Regions from separate parts of the Homo sapiens genome. Here region 1 is linked to region 2. Evidence: promoter capture Hi-C in human tissues and cell types (Jung and others, 2019). All regions are on one chromosome and are shown on one strand. The core of a region is centred on a gene start or on the middle of the fragment in contact, and the rest is flanking DNA. Distances in the headings are between cores, read along the strand shown.

What was found. Contacts are between HindIII fragments. The study calls those that stand out against the background at their distance.
Region 1: a contact is called between a fragment that was not itself captured here and the fragment with the promoter of TLDC2 in region 2, in 1 of the 25 tissues and cell types used here (aorta).

What each region holds. Positions count from the first base shown.
Region 1 is chr20:36,735,523-36,738,387 of GRCh38, reverse strand. The region is part of intron 1 of NDRG3 (NDRG family member 3); the gene reads left to right. Among named protein-coding and RNA genes, the nearest start is that of NDRG3, 9.1 kb to the left of the region's middle. The HindIII fragment of the contact is 3,411 bases long and covers 1-2,865 here.
Region 2 is chr20:36,874,888-36,878,018 of GRCh38, reverse strand. TLDC2 (TBC/LysM-associated domain containing 2) reads right to left here and starts at 1,881. Exons shown (of 7, transcript NM_080628.3): 1 at 1,812-1,881; 2 at 1-120. The coding sequence starts at 1,844. The HindIII fragment of the contact is 10,775 bases long and covers 1-3,131 here.

The DNA of each region.
Region 1 (2,865 bases), core at 57-2,556, 140 kb after region 2:
GTGTAGCTGGGATTATAGGTACCTGCCACCATGCCTGGCTAATTTTTGTATTTTTATTAGAGACGGGGTTTCACCATGTTGGCCAGGCTGGTCTCGAACTCCTGCCTTGGCCTCCGAAAGTGCTAGGAGAAAGTGTTGCTTTTAAGTCATTTTGTTGGGATGGTTTTAACCAGGGTGTTCACTAAAATATAACTTTGGATGATTAGTCCACAGGTTGTATTGCATTTCCAATACCCCCAGGTAGGTACAAGTCTCATATTAAAGTAGTAATGATAATAACGATACCTAAATTTTGTATGGGGTTTAGAATTTTTTTTTTTTTTTTGAGACAGAGTCTTGCTCTGTCACCAGGCTGGAGTGCGGTGGCACAATCTCAGCTCACTGCAACCTCCACCCCCTAGGTTCAAGCAGTTCTCATGCCTCAGCCTCCTGAGTAGCTGAGACAACAGGTGACCGCCACCATGCCTGGCGAATTTTTTGTATTTTTGGTGGAGGTGAGTTTCACCATGTTGGCCAGGCTGGTCTCAAACTCCGCCCACCTCAGCCTCTCAAAGTGCTGGTATTACAGGTATCAGCCACTGCGCCCAGCCAATTTTCAGAATTATTTTATAGTAACATCCTGGTAAGCTCCCGTAACCTAACCTGAGAATATGCATTAGAAGGATTAATGATCAGATGGCATCAAGTGGGGAAAATTGGTTATAGAGGTCAGGATGCAGATTGCTCAGGTTCAAATCCTTGCTCTGCTGCTTGCTAGCTGTGTGACCTTTGGCAAATTACAATACCCCGTCCGAGCTTCAGTTTCTTCATCTGTAAAATGGGGTGGATTAAATATGTTGGGAAGCACAATGAAATAATGAATCCATAAAGTGCTTATCACGGTACCTGGCATAGTGTTAAGCGCTCAATAAATTTGGCTCGTATGAGTATTATATACTGCATTTTAGGGCTCTTGTTTGTCCTTTACCTCACTCAGGCTGCCTTAAAGTACAAATTGTTTTTAGGGATTCCGCCTTACAGCTGGCAGGAACCTGGAGCCATCTAAGAGCACACCCCAGGGCTTTGCTGGTGGTAGCTTTCCTCGTGTCCTGAGTTGCCTTCTTCAGGAGTGGAAGGCAGGGGGTTGTGCTTCTGCTTTTAGAGTTACTTTAGTATGACTCCTGTGTTAAAACTTCCGCTGGCCGATGGGTGTCTGGGATTAACAAGAAGGCTCCTAGATGGGTCTTGCTTTGTTCTAGCAGTTATTTATACCAGGACCCTGGAAGGGATAGAATTAATATATAAGACAGACTCAGATTTCCAGCTTGGCAGTCTCTACAAACCTCTCATTTACCACCTGCTGCCAGAACCCAGGAGTGACACAACAGGAAGGTGGGCCTATTGCAGGGGTTGCTGCCCTTTTCCTTTCAGGAAAATATGAGGGGTGTGAATGGCCCTTATCTAGGCCTGAGGATGAGCAGGGGTACTTCCTGTTACAGTGAGGATCTGTGAGCATATCAGCTACTTAAGTAGCTGCCTTTGATCCTTCCCCACCCCTTAGCTTATGGAGATAGGGGGGATAGCATCTCTGAGAGAATTTCTTCTGGCGAAGAGGTACCCAGACTTTCCTTTATGCAGTGAAAAATCTCAGCTGCATTTTTAAAAGTCTTCCATGGAGCTGGGTGGTTTGGCTTGTTTATCTGGCTTCCTGGGGGAGTCTCCTGAGATCCTTTGCTTTCCTAAGGGCCCCCAGGAGACAGCAGTAGAACCAACATCCATTACCGTAGACACTTGAGGGGATGTTTAAGTCAATAGTTTTAGGATTAGATTAATTCAGCCTTTAACCCTGAGGAAACTTAAGAGCCAAGTCATCAGATAATTGTGCATCTTCTAGACTGAAGTATGGAATTTAGCCCAGTACTCTGGGATCTCTTTCAGAGCTGAGCTAGGAATCCGCATGCTAGTTCCAGCTCCACACCTAGCTGGCTGTGTGAATTCAGAAATCACTTAAATTTTCTGGGCCTCTTTTCTCATTGGAGAATGAGGGCATTACTGTAAACCAGTGGTTCTTAGCCCTAGCTGCATGTAAGAATTACCTGTGAAGCTTTAAAAACAATACTCAGGCCCTACGTTAGCCCAATTAAATTGGATCTTTAAGGTTGGGGCTGAGTCATTGATAATCTTCACTGCTTCCCAGGTTTAAGTGTAGCTAAGATAACTACGTGGACAACATGACCAAGTTTTAAACAACTGAAAAAAGTTAAGCTTCTGTGTCATTCTGCTCCTCAGAAACCTTCAGGGGTTGTCTGTGTAGTAAAGTCCAGCTCAGGTGCTCTGCATTCTGACCTAGGCTACTTCTGCAGCTTGTCTTCTTTCCCAGCTATATTGTTCTTGGTGTCTCCTGAATGTATTGTCTTTTTTTTTTTTTTTTTTTTTTTGAGACAGGGCCTCGCTCTGCCCAGGCTGGAGTGCAATGGTGCAATCTCGGCTCACTGCAACCTCCACCCCCTGGGTTCAAGCCTCAGCCTCCTGAGCTGGGATTAAGGCATGCGCCATCATGCTCAGCTAATTTTTGTATTATTAGTGGAAATGGGGTTTCACTTTGTTGGCCAGGCTGATCTTGAACTTCTGACCTCAAGTGATCCTCCCACCTCAGCCTCCCAAAGTGCTGGGATTACAGGTGCCCTGCCTGAGTGTATTGTCTTTAATTCTTTCTTTCCCAACCCTGATGTCCTCACCTGTATGTCCCTCCTCCCTTCCCCTGTTCAAAACATATCCCTTTAGGGCCCATCATTCTCCCTTCCCTTGGGAAACTCCTGACCATCCTAATCCTTAGTTATTTCTCCTGCCTCTGCATTGGTTTTGAGCTTCATTAGCTCTGAGTGT
Region 2 (3,131 bases), core at 632-3,131:
TTCTGTCAGCTGGGGCACCGTGGGATCCTCAGGAGCAGCAGCTGGGTCTGGAGCTGCCTCCTCCTCCTCTTCCTCTTCGTTACCCTCCTCCCCAGACAGGGTGTCCTCCACCTGGCTGGGCTGCAAAAACACAAAGTGGCCTGGTGTGTCCAGGGACAGGAGGTCCCAGCTTCTACCATCTCCTGAGCCCAAGAGCCTCCTCGGGCCACCTCATCACTCCCTGCCCATGTGCCTGTAACCCCCAGCCCAGCCCAGGGTAGTTGGGGGTTTCCACGACAGACAGGACGCTGCCCCTGCCGCCAGCCTGCTTCCTCCCTGGCCCCTGCCAGCTGAGGGCTGGAGCACAGTCCCCCCACCCCCGCCAGCACCCCACAAGGCTCAGATGGGGCCGTGGGCCGTGCGACTTGTCGGTCTGTTTGCCATGGTCCTGGGTGGGTGGCAGGGATCAAGTTCTAAGCTTGGGAGCAGAGGGGAAGGCAGGTGGTGGCATAGCCCTGGGAGCTTCAATTGTGTGTGTTTGTACATTAAATAATAACAACAAAAAACCCATCCTTGCCCAGGCCTGTGTTCAGTGTGCACTGTCTGTGATCTCTGTGTGTTTCTTCTTCTTTTTTCTTTTTCCTTTTTTTTTTTTTTTTGAGACAGGGTCTTGCTCTGTCACCCAGGCTGGAGTTCAGAGGTGCAATGTCAGCTCACTGCGACCTCTGGCTCCCAGGTTAAAGCAATTCTCTTGTCTCAGCCTCCCAAATAGCTGGGATGACAGGTGCCCACCACCATGCCTGGCTAATTTTTGTATTTTTAGTAGAGACACGGGTTCCTCCTGTTGGCCAGGCTGGTCTCGAACTCCTGACCTCAGATGATCCACCTGGCCTCCCAAAGTGCTGGGATTACAGGCGTGAGCCACCGCGCCTGGCCTTCTGTGTATTTCTTCTTATCAGCATTTTCCAAAGGAAGAAAATGAAGCCCAAAGGTTTCCCCATGAAGCCCGTGAAATGATGCATGCAGTCATATGTGGGATCATACATGTAGGTTCATGTAAAATGTGTTTGTCTGTGCGAATTGTGTGTTGGCTTGGAATAGAGTTGTGTAGGCACATCAATGTGTGGAGGTATTGAGTGTAAATTTGTGTTTATATATCAATGTGTTTGTGTGAGTTGTGATGGTGTAAATATCTACATCCATAAGGGGCATCATTATTCACTCATTCATTCATCCGAGCTTCCACTCTGTACCAGAGTGTGTGTGTGAGTGTGTGTGTTTGAATGTGTGTGTGTCTGTATGTGTGTTTGAGTGTGTGAGTGCATTTGAGTGTGTATGAGTGCATTTGAGTGTGTTTGAGTGTGTGAGTGTGTGTGTTTGCATGTGTATGCGTGTGAGTGTGTATATGTTATATGTATGTGTATGTGTGTGCCTCCACACAATGACCTTGCAGGCTTTTCCCAGGAAGAAGAGACCTCTCAAGGGCTGAGAGATGGACAGGACCCCCTCTCCTGCCCCGCTCTGTTCTCCAGGCTCAGGCCTGAGGCAGGTCTAGCTGTGTGTGGCTCTGAACAGAGCTCCATCCAGCACCCACTCCAGGGAGGAAGGGACAGAGACATCGGTCTGTCCCCCTTGAGAACCTTGGAGCAGGGGTGTTAAGACCCCATGTTCCTGAGTCAGTCCTTGCTCCAAACCACAGGCCTGCCAGGGAGGGACTTGAGAGGGGAACAAGTCACTGCCCGCATCCAACCCTAGCCCAGGCCCCACCCTGCCAGAGACCTCACCTCCTTTCACCTCCCAACCTGCACCACAGACGGAGTTGGAACCCTTACCAGCCGAGTGTAACGCCAGCGGAGGCCTCTCATTCTCCTGTCCCTGCTCAGCCGGCCGTGGGCAGTGAGTGAATCCTCAGCCCTGCCCAGGAAGGAAGCGCTGATAGGTGAGGCCTAGAGATGAGAGGGAGAGGCCTGGGGCACACCCAGCCAGCTCCATGCCCACGCCAGCTGCCCTTTGCTCCCTCTCACCTGTCACTCCAGGCCGAGCTGCTGCTGGGTGAGTCTGTGAGCAACTCGGCATTCAAGACCTCATTGCAGTTAGCATGTAACACGTATTAACCATACACCATAGATTCTGGTTGCAATTCCTTTCTACCTCCTTGTCCTTCTGGCAGCCTGGCCTTGGGACTGTGGGCCATTGGCCAGATGCCTAAGGCCCAGGCTGGAGGTCTGGGGCCTCTAGTTCCCCGTATGACCTTGGATAAGCCCATTTGCACTCCTGAGCCTCAGTTTCACCACACACAACATGTAACATGTTGAACCAGATAATCTCAGAAGACTTCGCGGGACTGACAGTCTGCCATTCACTTCCCTCTCCAAGCCGATGAGTGTGTTAGAACAGAAGCTAGAAGGGGGCATGCCTAGACTGAAAGAACAATCTGGCCCAGTGCAGTGGCTCATGCCGGTAAGCCCAGCACTTTGGGAGGCTGAGGGAGCCGTATCACTTGAGTCCAGGAATTTGAGACCAGCCTAGGCAACATGGTGAAACCCTGTCTCTACAAAAAATATAAAAATTAGCTGGGCATGGTGTCGTGCGCCTTAATCCCAGCTACTCGGAAGACTGAGGTGGGAGGATCACCTGAGCCTGAGAGGAGGAAGCTGCAGTGAGCCGAGATCATGCCACTGCACTCCAGCCTGGGCAAGAGTGAGGCCTTGTCTCAAAAAAAAAAAAAAAAAAAGCTATTTTTACTTTGCATCCTAAACACAGATGTATTTTAGGCTTTCATCATTGCTTTGCTTGTCATTTAACAGAAAGTTTCTTTATTAAGTCTTTGTTTCTTTTTCCATATTTAGTTTCAGATGGGGGTGGGGGGAACAGATGAATTTCTTTTTTTTTTTTTTTTTTTGAGTCAGAGTCTCACTCTGTCGCCCAGGCTGGACTGCAGTGGCATGATCTTGGCTCACTGCAAGCTCTGCCTCCCGAGTTCACGCCATTCCCCTGCCTCAGCCTCCCAAGTAGCTGGGACTACAGGCACCCACCACCACGCCTGGCTAATTTCTTGTATTTTTAGTAGAGACGGGGTTTCACTATGGAACATATGAATTTCTAAATTGAAACATAAATAAACTTTTGTTAATGTTCAGTAAAAAAAAAAA